Regions from separate parts of the Homo sapiens genome. Here region 2 is linked to region 1. The links are contacts of gene promoters, found by promoter capture Hi-C in human tissues and cell types (Jung and others, 2019). All regions are on one chromosome and are shown on one strand. Each heading gives the region's core, a stretch centred on a gene start or on the middle of the fragment in contact. The rest is flanking DNA. Distances are from core to core; before and after follow the strand shown. Region 1 holds the start of HKDC1 (hexokinase domain containing 1). Region 2 overlaps VPS26A (VPS26 retromer complex component A).

The links. Contacts are between HindIII fragments. The study calls those that stand out against the background at their distance.
Region 2: a contact is called between a fragment that was not itself captured here and the fragment with the promoter of HKDC1 in region 1, in 2 of the 25 tissues and cell types used here (IMR-90 fibroblasts and aorta).

The regions. Positions count from the first base shown.
Region 1 is chr10:69,215,359-69,223,327 of GRCh38, reverse strand. HKDC1 (hexokinase domain containing 1) reads right to left here and starts at 2,996. Exons shown (of 18, transcript NM_025130.4): 1 at 2,830-2,996. The coding sequence starts at 2,892. LOC101928994 (a long non-coding RNA gene) reads left to right here. Exons shown (of 5, transcript NR_120648.1): 3 at 103-161; 4 at 303-451; 5 at 6,556-7,969. RefSeq lists an enhancer at 4,970-5,139. The HindIII fragment of the contact is 7,476 bases long and covers 1-7,347 here.
Region 2 is chr10:69,136,718-69,144,686 of GRCh38, reverse strand. The region is part of intron 2 of VPS26A (VPS26 retromer complex component A); the gene reads right to left. Among named protein-coding and RNA genes, the nearest start is that of VPS26A, 17 kb to the right of the region's middle. The HindIII fragment of the contact is 3,189 bases long and covers 572-3,760 here.

The DNA of each region.
Region 1 (7,969 bases), core at 1,747-4,246:
GAAGGCTTCCACCCAGCAAATATGAAAGTGTTTGAGATTAAAAGTAAATTAAAGGTGGAATTACAAGTAACATTTCCACTTTTTTGTAATGTTGACATACAGAGCCATGAAAAATACACACTGAAAACCTCCCAGTTCTCCTGTGGATGAACAATCTGCAGGTCAGTGACCAGGTCTGGCCTGGTGCTATCAATAGGTCAAATAATGTCAATATATTGAATTGGAAAAGAATCTGTCAGAGTGGTTTCTATTTTCGTTTTTTTCATTTTGTTTTATTTTTGTTTCCATGCTGGTATGGGAAGATTTTTAGAAATTGTTCCAGGGTCTCAGTAGTAACCCTTGCAGGCACCGCTGGCCCAGGATCTGGACAATTCTAGAGGCAGGAAGCACAGAGACGAAGAAGGGGACTCACTGCCTGACCGCAGAGAAACGAGCTGTGCCTTTTGACCAGGTGTGTTTCCACCACGTGTTGGGAGGAGTGTTCTCAGAACCATGACTCAGCCCAGCAGCCATAAACCAGTCTCCCACACTACCCCAGAGACTTCCTGGGGCACTTGCTTAAGGTGGCTATAAAAGTGCTTCCAACTTTCTCGCCTCCCACAGGGAGAGGGAGGTCAGCTCCCGGCATTGAAAAAGGCTGACTGTCCTTCCAGAAGGACCTGGAGCCCATCAGCAGAGGCTGCATTTCCCATCACAGGGTGCTCCTGAGCCTGCACCAGGGCTGTTGGACAAACATGTCCCGCATGATCCTAGGGTACAAAAGGTTAACCAACACAAAGGAGCCCAAGGAAATGAAATAAGTTTGCAGAATCAAAGGTTTCAGGGTTCCAAAGGCTCCCCCTTGGGGGTGGGAGAGACATGGTGCAACTTGTGCCTTTACTAAGCAGATAACAAAAGAAAGTGGATTCCTAGGCAGCGCCTCCTTAAGTAGCCAGTAGAGGGCTCTGAATCTAATCAACAAGTGATTGCTTTATAATGTTTTTAAATTTGCTACAACCTCTAACTCAACTCTCTAAATGAATAGAATTTAGTGGGAGTTTATCCCACCAAGTACCTGAGGGCTGTAAGGGGCCACACTTCCTCTCTCTCTTTCTTTGTTTTGTTTTGAGACGGAGTCTCATTCTGTTGCCCAGGCTGGAGTACAATGGCATGATCTCGGCTCACTGTAACCTCTGCTGCCCGGGTTCAAGGGATTCTCCTGCCTCAGCCTTCTGAGTAGTTGGGATTACAGGCGCACTCCACCACGCCCAGCTAATTTTTAAATTTTTAGTAGAGACGGGGTTTCACCATGTTGGCCAGGGTGGTCTCAACCTCCTGACCTCAGGTGATCCACCCACCTTGGCCTCCCAAAGTGCTGGGATTATAGGTATGAGCCACCATCCTTGGCCTTTTTTTTTCTTTTCTTTCCTTTTTTTTTCAGACAGGGTCTCACTCTGTCACCCAGGCTGGAGTGCAGTAGCGCAGTCTCCCGGGCTCAAGCCATCCTGCCACCGCAGCCTCCCGAGTAGTTGGGACTGTAGGCACACACCACCATGACCGGCTAATTTTTACATGTTTTGTAGAGATGGGGTTGCTCCATGTTGCCCAGGCTGGTCTCAAACTCCTGACCTCAAGTTTGAGATGAGATCTGCTCATCTCAGCCTCCCAGTGTATGCAGATTACAGCCGTGAGCCACGGTGCCTGGCCTCCTTATTCATTTTGTAAAGCAGGAGGGAGTCATGGCACAGCAGAAAGCATTGAAGGAAGAGTCAGCCAACTTGGATTTAATCCTCATTCCATCCTAAATACTTGGTGACCTTGGCTAAGTCCTCCTGCTAGGAGGACTTCTGTCATCTGCACTTTGAGAGATGCTTTTTGCCCAGGGCCGTGACAGCCAGCCGGTGTGGCCAGAGTAGCAGACTGGGCTCATTTTAGCTGCCTGGAAAGAACCCTGGTTCCCTCCTGTTGACCCTTGGCAACCTTTAACCAGCCCACTTTGGAATGAATTTTGTAGACAAGTTCCCTGAGCAAAGTGACAAAATAATGCACACCATGAATAGTGTACCATTGGCAAATAGCAGGTGCCAATAATAGATATTTCAATTACTGTCTATTGCAACTCACACCTTCTTGCTGCCCACATTTATATGCTTTCAAATACATGAACAAACAGATCTGCCCCAACAGTTCTTTTTTTTTAGATGAAGTCTCACTCTTGTCCCCTAGGCTGGAGTGCAATGGCGCGATCTCGGCTCACTGCAACCTCCACCACCTGGGTTCAAGCGATTCTCCTGCCTCAGCCTCCCGAGTAGATGGGATTACAGGTGCCCGCCACCACACCCAGCTAATTTTTGTATTTTTAGTTGAGACGGGGTTTCACCATGTTGGCCAGGCTGGTCTCGAACTCCTGACCTCAGGTAATCCGCCCACCTCGGCCTCCTAAAGTGCTAGGATTACAGGCGTGAGCCACTGCGCCCAGCCTTCTGCTCCAACAGTTCTTAAAACTTCTTTGAAAATGATTCTCCTCGCCTTTGTGGCCTTTCCGAGCAAACATCCCTTACAGCAAACACAATCCTCTTCAAGCTTTCCAAACACCCTCCTCACCCGCTTCCGCATCCAATACCTGCCAGGAAGTTCCGAGTGAAGTGTAAGGTTCAGGACAGTAATGCAATGCCCAGGAGTGTGGGAGAATTACTCCCTCTTCCCTCAGTGAGTCTTTTACTGGTCATATGCTCCCAGTATCTTTTCTAATAAGCTCTCTTCACTCCCTTCTGATTTTTTTTTTAAGGGAATCAGTTTTGTCCGTGAAGAAGGAGCTGGGCATCTCTCAGCTTCGTGGGTCCTCCTTACCTTCTTGATCTGGTCCTCCTTCAGCTTGCTGAAGTAAAATGCCATCAAGTGGACCGCAAACATTTTCCCCAAGTTTGGTTTCTCCTGAGATGGGCAGAGATTCCTGTGCAGTGTTCACTCCTACGACTCTGGAGTGTTGCACGCTTCCAGTCCAGGCTGGCAGACCTCCTGGGGAGCGAGGTGTTGCGGACTAAATACCTCCAGCCTGCTTGGTTCAATGATTAAACTCCCCCCCACCCCACCCCTTTGGTCCCTCCCTCTGGCACACACTTGATTGTCTAATAGGAGGCTCTGGATGGTAGCTGAGGTTTAGTGGAGGGGGAAGCAGGGTATTGATGGGTTGCTTGACTACTTGAGAATTGGGTGCCACCAAATCTCATTGCTAAGCAACCCTCTCAAGCCGGGGCTCTGCCAAGCCCACTCAGCCGAGGAAAATCTTCTGCGAAGTTGGGCACTAAACAAAGCCAACTTTCAACCGGTGGAGCTGCTCTGCAAATTTCCAGTCCCAGGCTTTTCTCTTTAGTTTTTTATGCCAGTGGCATAACTCTGTGACCCCCTGCTCCTCAGAAGCACTGAACTAACTAAAACTAAACATTGTCCTGGTCAATGGGATTTCAAGAATGTTGGGGCAGATTCTTCCATTTGTGACAGATCAGATCTCTTAACTAATAGCCCATGGTTAACAGAAAATGATCAATAAATGTTTACCTATTCACAGTGTTAAGCCAGAAAATCTTTAGTTCACAGGTAGTGACCCAGGAAAAAATATTCCTGAGAAAGAGTGAACTGAAGTCACCAGTGCTCACTGGGAATCACTGCTGGAGAGAAGGAAGTCACAGATAAGAAATGTCTCAGTCCAGCCGGGTGCAGTGACTCACGCCTGTAACAATCGCAGCACTTGGGGAGGCCGAGGCAGGCAGATCATGAGGTCAGGAGTTCGAGACCAGCCTGGCCAACATGGTGAAACCCCATCTCTACTAAAAATACAAAAAACTTAGCCAGGAGTGGTGGCAGGTGCCTGTAATCCCAGCTACTTGGGAGGCTGAGGCAGGAGAATCACTTGAACCTGGGAGGCAGAGGTTGCAGTGAGCCGAGATCGCGCCATTGCACTCCAGCCTGGGTGACAAGAGCAAAACTCCATCTCAAAAAAAGAAAAAAAAGAGAAATGTCTCAGGCCACTGAGATGTTTTATTCACTCACTTCTCACTCATCATACTTGACATGAGAAGGACCCAGAAAGCACCCAATACATGGGTACAATCAACCTTGCACTCTTCCCACAGTCACTGGCTGGCTAATGAAACCAATAACAACAGCGTTAACAACAGCGGCTAACATGGATGGAGCATTTACCAATCCCATTTTGTTTTTATTACTCTTGTTATTATTATTTTTTAGACAGGGTCTCATTCATCCCCCAGGCTGGAATGCAGTCGTGGAATCATGACTCGCTGCAACATCAGCCTTCTGGGCTCAGGTGATCCTCCCATCTCAATCCCCAGGGTAGCTGGGGCTACAGGCACGTGGCACCATGCCCAGCTAATTTTTGTATTTTTGTAGAGATAGGGTTTTGCCATGTTGCCCTGGCTGGTCTTGAATTCCTGGGCTCAAGCGATTTACCCACCTCAGCCTCCCAAAGTGTTGGAATTACAGGCATGAGCCACTGCTCCCGGCCCACTCTTATTTTATAGATGAAAAAATTGAGGCCCAGAAAGGTTACGTGATCACAAAGCCATAAACAGGACAGCAAGGGGTCAATCCTGGAAGTTTGATTCCAGGGCCCAGCTATAATACATGGCATTGGCTCTCCAGCCCTGCTTTCTCCACGCAATAGATACTCAATAGATACGCAATTGATAACTATTAGTAGCAGCATTCTGTTGGGATGTTAAGAATTTGTTTTTCTTTTTCTTTTTTTTGAGACAGAGTCTCACTCTGTTGCCCAGGCTGGAGTACAGTGGCTCAATCTCAACTCACTGCAACCTCCACCTCCTGGGTTAAAGCAATTCTCCTGCCTCAGCCTCCTGAGTAGCTGGAATTCAGTGCTCTCTACCCATTGCCGTGTGGACGAGCCATCAGGTCTCACTTAAGCCCACAATGCAGAGGAGGCTCGGTTAAAATTACTCCAGATGCTTTATTCAGATTGATATAAGCATATTAAAACTGTCTCCCAGATTGAGGATCCCCATCCTTTTCAGTCAATTTACCCTCAGACTATGACTTTTAGCTTGCTCCTTTATTACACAAGCAAACAAAGATGAACCTTTAGTTCCCCAAACCATTCAGTGCCCCAAACCAGGTGGAATTGTTGGTATTCTGAAATGCGCATCCTAGGCCCTAGCCCCCATTGGCTGAGGATAACATCCTGGGAAGGCCATCTGCCCGTAAGTGATGACATTATTTATCCTAATTCCCCCACTAGTTGATTTATTTCAGAAACAGAGTCTCACTACATCTTGTCTTGCCCAGGCTGGATTTGAACTCCATCCAGTCTTGCCCAGGCTGGATTCGAACTCCTGGGCTCAAGTGATCCTCTGGCTTCAGCCTCCTGAGTAGCTAGGACTACAGGCTTGCATCACCACACCCAGCATTTAATTCCCCCATTTAAAAAGTAACCTGGGCTGGGCGCAGTGGCTCACACCTGTAATCCCAGCACTTTGGGAGGCTGAGGTGGGAGGTGGGCAGATTGCCTGAGGTCAGGAGTTCGAGACCAGCCTTGCCAACATGGTGAAACCCTGTCTCTACTAAAAATGCAAAAATTACCTGGGCATGGTGGCGGGTGCCTGCAATCCCAGCTACTCAGGAGACAGAGGTAGGAGAACTGTTTAAACCCAGGAGGTGGAGGTTGCAGTGAGCCAATATTGCACCACTGCACTCCAGCCTGGGCAACAGAGTGAGACTCCATTTCAAAAAAAAAAAAAAATGTAACCTGGGCAGTGCAGTATGAACCAACTGTCATTGATTTGTTCGACATAGGGATAAGAGGTTACAGTAGCCAGTGGTCAAAAGATGCAAACCATAACCAAAGATCTCTGTAATCTCACGGTTGCTTGTGTGAGTCAGATAGGCAGCCTTTGGAATTTTAATCAGGCAAATGACACCAGAGGATTTTCATCTATTGCATCATTCCCTTTTTAATCTGAGCACATTAGCGTCTACATTCCAGGCCTGAGTAAGGTGACTAAACCAGGAAGTTTAATGATTACAGAGATCACATGCATTTGGAGTCATCTAGCTCAGCCCTCTCACTTTATAGAATCAAGACAAAATAATTAGGTTATTTTATCATTCCTCATCTGATTACTCCAATTCAAGTCTTGGGATTTTTCACCCTTACTACAGTTCTATTGGCTATTCAAGGATATCTAGGTTTAAATCTTATAAGTAGTTGGATTTTGCTTAAGAACACCCATTTGAGGGCCGACACTGACAAGTGACATTTTAGTTAAAGCGTATCACCCATCTGGCCCAAATCTTCCATGTAAGAAGGGAAACTCTCCCATCTGTAGACACATCTCCGTTTCATAGAGCTCCACTTTAATCTACACGGTCCGTTTTGGCAAGGCTCAAAGATAATTTCTGTTTCTCTTTAAGTACTGAGTATGGTGGGAGGACTAGAAGTCCAGCAAAATTTACCTATTTATTTAGCAAACACTTCCCCATGGGGTTTACTAGATGTCTTACGATATTAATTCCACAGTAACTGTCATTCTCCCTATTTTACAGATGGAGAAACCAAGGCACAGAGCCCAACTGGGACGCAGTGAAATCGAGATTTGAACGCAGGCAGTCTAGCTGCAGAGTTCTTGCTTGCCCGCTGTGCTACACTGGCTAGGCTGGAAACAAGGCACGGGGAGACTTGGGGCCTCAGCTGGAAAAATGGCCCTAAGCTCTTTCTAACACAGTGGAAAGTGCACAGGCCCTGGGGTCCTACTTTGGCTTTTCTTAAACTGCAGGTAAAGGTCCAAGTCTATATTCATATCTGTAAAAGCTTCATAGCTATGTCAGTGGTCACAGTGAGAAAGAAAGCAAATTATCACACAAGGAAAGGCATGTGGTCTACAGTGGGCACACTAGAAGCATCTCCTGAAGCTCAGCCTTTCCCTGGCTGGGGACCCCTCTTCGCTCACCCAACTTGGTCTCTTGGGATAAGAAAATGTGTGCAGACCTTTCAGTCCACTCAGTAAGGCATGATCCTAAACCATTAGAAAGTACCTGTTCCATGTACTGGAATTAAAGGAACAGTTGGGAATTTTATGGAAATTCTATTCCTGTTACTAAAGAAAACAGCTCTTGAATTCTGCCCTGTATTCTTTTTAATGGTAAGTCCAAAGTTAAGTCGTCATAACATAAATCAGTGTGACCTGCTGGTATTCCACTTGCTGCAAAAGAATCAGAAACTGTGTGGGAGAGCAAACTTCCATAATAAGAAAACCAATGTAGAGACTTCCAAACGCTGCCAGTGGTTACAGTCACAATGGTGTCTCTATCGGAGCAGCCACAAATGAAGCAGAAATGCTAACCTCAGCAAGTTTCAAAAGAATGCTGCTAATCATTTTTACAGGTTTATTCTGAACCGAAGACAAGGAATGCTCAGGAAGAAATTCTGACATGATTTCTAAATCACAACTGTACATTAAGGGTCATATTTGCAAAACACCTATCAAGGAAAGAAAAGCCATACAAGAAAATGCAGTTCATGTGACTTTTAACATTTTTCAGAATAATTACAATCTCAATTGCACAAAATAACCAACTTTTCAAAGCAAATGAGACTTCTGGTTAAACACGGCATTAACCTACAAGGACAAAAAGAAAGGAAACAGTGACTGATAAGAGATCTTAACATAATTCTGGAAGACAGGAAGCTCACGGAAGTAATTGCTTAGTAGAGCAAACACTGAAACCTGAGTGCCCGCAGAGGGTGACTCGGGTGAGAAAGGAGCTGTGACGTTTGTAAAACTCTAAAATGCTCAGGAATCAGAGGTCTGGGGCAAGACATAGAGCCAAAAACAAGAGATTGGTTAAAAAGCTATATAAAAAAGCTTGGCCAGGCACGGTGGCTCACCCCTGTAATCCCAGCATTTTGGGAGGCCAAGGCAGGTGGATCATTTGAGGTCAGGAGTTCGAGACCAGCCTG
Region 2 (7,969 bases), core at 917-3,416, 78 kb after region 1:
GATAGTAGGTAAACGGATAAACAAACATTGGTACATCCATACAATGGAATATGATTTGGCACTAAAAATAAATGAGCAATCAAGTCACAAAGATATATGGAGAAACCTTAAAAGAATATTGCTAAATGAAATAAACCAATCTAAAAAGGCTACATTCTATATGATTCCAACTACATGACATTCTAGAAAAGACAAAATTATAGACAGTAAAAAGATGAGTAGTTGCCGAAGACTGTGTGGATGGTGGTGGTAGCGCAGGTGCCAGAGCGGCATGACTAGGTGAATGAAACACAGGGAATTTTTAGGGTGGTTAAACTATTCTATATGATATCACAATGATGGATACATGACATTATGCATTTATCAAAACCCAGAAAATGTACAACAGAGTAAACCCTAATGTAAACTATGGACTTTAGTTAATAATAATGTGGTAATAATGGTTCAACAATTTTAACAAATGTATCACTCTAATGCAAGATTAGTAACAGTGAATCCATGTGGGGCTGGGGTGAGGAAGAAGGGAGTACACAGAACTCTACTTTCTGCTCAATTTTTCTGAAAATCTAGAATTGCTCTTAAAAGAGCTCTTGAGTATGTATCTAGGAGTAGAACTGCTGGATACAGATAATGCAAACCAGTTTTCTATATAGTTATGTAAGAATCTGAGGCTGGACACAGTGCCTCACACCTGTCATTCCAGCACTTTGGAAGGCAGAGGCAGGAGGATCACTTGAGCCCAGAAGTTTGAGATTAGCCTGGGAAACATGGGGAGACCCCAACTCTACAAAAATAGTAAAATATTAGCTGAGCATGGTGGTGTGTGCCTGTTGTCTGAGCTACTTGGGAGGCTGAGGTGAGAGGATCGCCTGAGCTTGAGAGGTCAAGGCTACAATGAGCCATGACCACATCACTACACTCCAGCCTGGGTGACACAGCAAGACCCTGTCTCAAAAAAATTAAATTTAATTTGAAAACTAAAAGAAAGCAATCTGGGTGATAAAGACTCAAAACCCAGGGTTCTTGAACAATAACTAAAGGAAATAGCATATTTAGCTTAGAGAAGACAGGATAAACAAGACAGTGATGTGGAAAATGCTTAGAGAGAACTCTTACTTAGAAAAGGATTAGATTTATTTTGCGTATCTCTAAAAAGCAGAGTGGATACTGTTAACAGAACAGCAGAATCCCCACACTCTGAAAAGTAGGCATACAGAAACTCACGTCAGGAATATTAAAAAGGAATTTATTCTTGCTGTGGGCGAGATGTCAGACCTCCAAGATCCAACATAATATCTAATATATGAAAGATTTTCATGCAGAGCATCCTACAGTGCAAAGCCAAGTTTGGAAACCAATGAGGCAGTCTAACCTCCTAAACTTATAGGTGAGATCCAGGAAATTAAATGACTGTCCAGAGTTACCTACCAAGACAGCGGTAAAGTTAAGGCTAGATCTTCCAGTGCTAGCCCAGTGATCTTTTTATTACACCAGGACATTTCACAAACCCTAGATTGGTGTGGCAAGATTTGTTCTTAGTGACACATGCTTGGTCGTAAACAACCCGTTGTTTCCTCCTCTTTTTCCTTTAAGCTTTCTTTTCAGCATGTTCACTGATCACCTATTTAATAATCTAAAGATATGTCAGGAACCAATATTAAGTTTACCTGAAACAAACTTTCTACCCCATTTTATAAATAAGGGCTTTTCTTATATTCTAGAACCTCTCTCATTTTCCACAATTACTAAAGGACTCCTAGCAGAGATTTGGTGACCAGTTCTGCAAAATTCTTTCAGTATTATCGCATAGCATTTGTCTGGTATGGTCACCAGGATGTTTGAAAACTAGTTAGTTTATTTTTAATCTTCTTAACCATAACAAAGCTTTCATTCTGTTTTAATTTTTAATGATCCTACCTTTCCCAATTTAAATCTTTTTTTTTTTTTTGAATAGTGGGGGGAAAGCTTTCTTTTGCATTTGTTATATTAAAATAAGTGTGCCAAATGAGCATATTATTTTCTTATTCATCTTATTCTAAATATGAGGTTTAAAATGTCTTTCTTAGCTTTAAAAGCCTCAAGCTCGTTGTCAAGATAGTCTTTCTGAGGTTATTACAAATCTATACCACTTTTTTCATTTTCTTTAGTTATCCTAATTTTACTGAACACAAGATAATCTTTCAAATAATCCTTGGCCAGGCACAGTGGCTCATGCCTATAATCCCAGCACTTTGGGAGGTCAAGGTTGGGGAATCACTTGAGTCCAGGAGTTTGAGACCAGACTGGGCAACACAACAAGACCCTATCTATAAAAAAAAAAAATTTTTTTAATTAGCCAGGCAGGGTGGTTCATATGTCTGCGGTCCCAGCTACTTGGGAGGCTGAGGTAGGAGGATTACTTGGGCCCCCAGGGGGATGAGGCTGCAGTGAGCCGTAATCATGACACTACACTCAGCCTGGGCAACACAGTGAGACCCCACCTCAAAAAAAAAAAAAAAAAAAAAGGCCTGGTATGGTGGCTCACGCCTATAATCCCAGCACTTTGGGAGGCTGAGGCAGGCAGATCATGAGGTCAAGAGATTGAGACCATCCTGGCCAACATGGTGAAACCCCGTCTCTACTAAAAATACAAAAAATTAGCCGGGCGTGGTGGCATGCGCCTGTAATCCCAGCTACTCGGGAGGCTGAGGCAGGAGAATCACTTGAACCCGGGAGGCAGAGGTTGCAGTGAGCCAAGATCGCGCCACGGCACTCCAGGCTGGCAACAGAGCAAGACTGCATCTCAAAAAAAAAAGAGGAATCATTGTATCATTATGAAGAACTTCAGAAGGAATACCTGGGTCATGGTGAGTACTCAGTAAATATTGTTATTATAGCAAACCTCTTTTCATGTGAATGAATACAGATCAATATAATCACATTAATAATGGCCCTAAGCACTTAATGGTTATTACCATAATTAGGTTTTTTAATGTCTGGACATTTAAGTGGCTTTCAATTTTTGAATATTATAAACAGTGAAATGAACAAAGTTGATTATTTTAGGATAAAATCTGATCAGAAGAATCTGTGGATCAAAATAATATTAATCAATACAGGCACTGCTCAAATATTTCCAGCTGCATACATTCTGAGTGCATGGTATGATTGTATTCCCTACCCTCTTGTGGCTGGGTGAGGTACGAACAAGACTGTTTCTAGAGACAATAAATTTGATCAGAAATGCTCTTTGTTACTTCTAGGATGGGGCATTTTAATGGCTTGTGAAAGACTCTGCAGAGATTTCTCTCCCTCAGCCATGATGAGTGTGATGTTCCTGGCTGCTCCATCACTGAGCATGGCACAGAATAAGGCCCTCAGCTAACTCACAAGGAACATGTTGCCTGGGCAAGAAAGAAGCCACTGCCACTGTTGTTTTTAAGTCACTGAGTTTTGGGGTTGTCTCTTACATAGTAATAATCCAGACTATTCTGGCTACTATAAATGATATCCACTTTTGAAGATTTTGATACATATTGCTAAACTGCCAGAATGGTTACACATGGCCTTTTAGAATCTCAGATCAATTTCTGGGAAGATGGCAACATAGTCTTTGAATCTCCCCAGATCGTCACATAAAAACAGATGGACCAACTAGACAGCAAAACCAAAAAAATCTAAGGATCCAATTTACCACAGAAAAAGATAAAGTATTCCCACAATCCCAAAACATAATGCGTAGGGACAAACCAGGTTAATAGCCACAAAACCTGCATGATACTAGGGTTGTGCAGGAGGAATCAAAGAATGCAATGGAGTGTCTGATGGACCTAAGAACTCCCAAATTACTCATATATATTCACTGGAAAGCATGGTGTCAATCTGAGAATAAGAGCTAACGCTGGAAGGAGTTTTGCACAATCCAATAATATTAGAACACTCAAAACTGACCAGTCAGGCCTGCTGTCTAGGATAGGTGGTTAGAAAAACTATCCTAAACCAAACCATCAAAAGTTCAGGAAGGGCCAGGCACAGTGGTTCACACCTGTAATCCCAGCACTTTGGGAGGCTGAGACAGGTGGATCGCCTGAGCTCAGGAGCTCGAAACCAGCCTGGGCAACACGGTGAAACCCCGTATCTACCCCAAAATACCAAAAATAATAATAATAATAATTGGGCGTGGTAGTGTGCCCTGTGGTCCTAGCTGCTCAGGAGGCAGAGATGGGAAGATCGCTTTAGCCTGGGAGACGGAGGTTGCAGTGAGCTGAAATCGTGCCACTGCACTCCAACATGGGTGACAGAGTGAGACTCTATCACGAAAAGACAAAAAGTTCAGGAGAAGGTCGGGTGCAGTGGCTCACATCTCAGCACTTTGGGAGGCCAGGATGGGAGGATCACTTGAGCTCAGGAGTTTGAGACCAGCCTGAGCAACATAGCAAGACCCTGTCTCTACAAAAAATATATATTTTTTAATTAGCTAGGCACAGTGGCACATGCCTGTGGTCCCAGCTACTCGGAAGGCTGAGGTAGGAGGATCGCTTGGGCCTTGGAGGTCAAGGCTGCAGTGAGCCATAGTCATGCCACTGCATTCCAGCCTGGGCAACAGAGCAAGATCTTATCTCAAAAAAAAAAAACATTGGGGAAAACTAATTTCACATAAAAATTAGCAACATAAATATATCAAGGTCAAATCCCATACAAAGTTATTTTAAGAAAAAAAGAGAAGGAACAGAATGGCATTTCTACAGACAAGATAGATCAAAACTGTAATTTATTTCAAAACAGGCTATACGATATTAAGAAAATGATACAATACATGAAAGAAAATCTTAAGCTAGGGTGAGAAAAATCAGAAAAGAATTAGAAATAGAAGTAAAAATCATTTTAGAAATAAAGGATAAGCAGAAGGAATACAAGAGCAAAAAACCACACTCAAACAAGACTCAAAAATACTGATATCAAGAAGAAAACCAAAGCAAAGGAATGGAATAAATACTAATTAATAATGGCTGTAATTCAAGAAAACTTTCCTCAAATGAAAAAACTGTTAACAATACCCTATGCCAGAAGACAATGCAGTAATAATAGATTTAAAACACTCAAGAAGGCCGGGCACGATGGATCATATCTGTAATCCCAGCACTTTGGGAGGCCAAGGCAGGCGGATCACAAGGTCAGGAGTTTGAGACCAGCCTGGCCAATATGGTGAAACCCCATCTCTACTAAAAATTTAAAAACTAGCCAGACATGGTGGTGGGCACCTGTAGTCCCAGCTACTTGGGAGGCTGAGGCAGGAGAATCGCTTGAACCTAGGAGGCAGAGGTTGCAGTGAGCCGAGATTATGCCACCGCACTCCAGCCTGGGTGACAGAGCAAGACTCCATCTCAAAAATAATAAATAAATAGAAAATAAATAAAATAACTCAAAAAAATGTAAGCCAAGATTATTCAGAAAAACTAACTTTTAAGTGTAAAGGACACAAAAAAGCCATTACCAATATGCAAAAACTTAGGCCTTATTGTTCCCATGAGCATTTCCTGAGGAATCTATTAGACTCTAGTAACTAGAGAATAAGCTTCAGACAATGAAACAAATAAAGAGACAAAGATATAAGGACTGGTGGTGCACACTATATGAACAGTTATTTATAAAACCAAGACTAAGTGAGGGCGAAAGGAAGCACATAAAGTATATAATTACTATACACTCTGACAATGTACTTACTATGGTACATTTAAGAAATGTGAGTAAAACAAATAGCAAATGCTAAATTTTTTTTAACTAACTTCATAATCATATTGATAGTGGTAATGTTAGTATTGTTATTCTGAGACTATTATGTATATAATGTGGGGTAAAGATATTGAGTAAATTATGGGATATGCTAATTACATCTTCCTTTGACTCTGAAAATCAGTATTCTTGATGCAGAAGAAAGGAGATATACATGTAACATAAGAGGTTAAGTAAAAACTTCTAATTTTCAAATTGAATTGGAAATGACAATATGATTCCTGAAGTATTTTATCTTAAACAATATACACAAATAAAAATAAATTTATTAAATCTATATTTAAAAACTCTCCCCATCTATCCACTGAGCAGCCTAGAAATAATGTCCAACACTGTAGCAATGAGCAATCTTTGCATGCAACTATGGCCTTGAAAGATACGGCTGAGTGCAGGTATGAAGCAGAAACACAAAAGACCCTTAAACATCTTGTCATACCAGTTAGCAAGAAAGCCACCAAAAACTCCTAAGGTCTTTGGCAGTTTATTAAAAACTTAAACATATTTAACATAAGGCAGCAATTCCACTCCCAGGTACATGCTCAAGAGAAAGGAAAATATAGGTCCACACAAAACTGCTACACAAATGTTCACATCAGCATTAGTCACAACAGCAAAAAAGTAGAAACATCCCAAATACCCACCAACTGGTGAATGCATAAACAAGAATGTGGTATAGCCATAAAATGGAATACTATTCATCAATAAAAAACAATGATATACTAATAACAAATGCTACAATATTGATGAATCTCAAATACATTATACTAAGTGAAAGAAACAAAATAGGAAAAGACCACACATTGTATAATTCCATTTATATGAAATGTCCAGAATAGGCAAATTCATAGAAACAGAGATCAGGGGTTGTCAGAGACTGGAAGGAGGGGAAATGGAGAATGACTGCTAATGGTACAGCATTTTTAAAAATTTCTGGAGTAATGAAAATGTTCTGGAATTAGTGGTGATAGTTGTACAACTCTAAATTTACTAAAAATTTTAAGCACACTTAAAATGGGTGAATTTTTATGGCGAATATATATATATATATATATCTCAATACAGCTTAAAAAAAGAAAAATCCTAGGGCCCCCATGTCCTTTCATAAGAGTCAATACAAATGTGGTAGGCAGAATTCTAAGATAGCCCTCAATATTACTATCCCATGGTGTACACATGTGTATAATCCTCTTGAGTGTGGGTGAGTCCAGTGAATATGATAGGATACCACTCCTGTGATCAGGTTACTAATCAGTTGATTTTTTTAGTTAATCAAAAGGGAGGTTATCCTAACTGGAATTGATCAAACCAGGTAAGCTCTTTAAAAGAAGATGAATGTCAGAGTGATGGTCTCCTCCTGGCCTTGAAGACAACGCAAACTGAGAGAAAGGGGCCACTCAGCAAGGATCTGAGGGCAACCTATAGGAACAGACAGCCTACTGCACAAGAAACAAGGGTATCAGTCATAGCACAACAAGGAAATTTCTGCCAAAAACCAGTGAGCCTGGAAGAAAATCCTGAACTTCAGACGAGACTGCAACCTTGGATTGATTTTAACCTGGTAAGTCCCTGAGCATAGGACCCAGCTAACCTCCACCTGGACTTCTAAATCACAAAAATCCTAAGACATAAATTTGTTATTTTAGGTTGCTAAGTTTGTGGTAATTTGTTACAGAGGATTATACAACTAGAGCTTCAATAGGGCAATATTTATAAACATCAAGTATGTTTAAATCATGAGTTTATATAAGTTATTGAGAAATAAAACTAGTAGTTTACACCTTTGGAAGATAAGGAACCAAGTTATTATTTTTTAAAACACGCCAAAGGCCAGGCACGGTGGCTCACGCCTGTAATCCCAGCACTTTGGGAGGCTGAGGCGGGCGGATCACAAGGTTAGGAGTTCGAGACCAGCCTGACCAACATGGTGAAACGCCATCTCTACTAAAAATACAAAAATTAGCTGGGCATGGTGGCACGTGCCTGTAATCCCAGCTACTCGGGAGGCTGAGGCAGGAGAATCACTTGAATCCGGGAGGTGGAGGCTGCAGTGAGCCGAGATCACGCCATCGCACTCCAGCCTGGGCAACAGAGCGAGACTCCATCTCAAAATAAATAAATAAATAAATAAATAACAAAACAGGCCAAAAAAGGAAAAAGGTCAAGCATTCTTTTTTCTATATGAGCTGTACCACTAGGT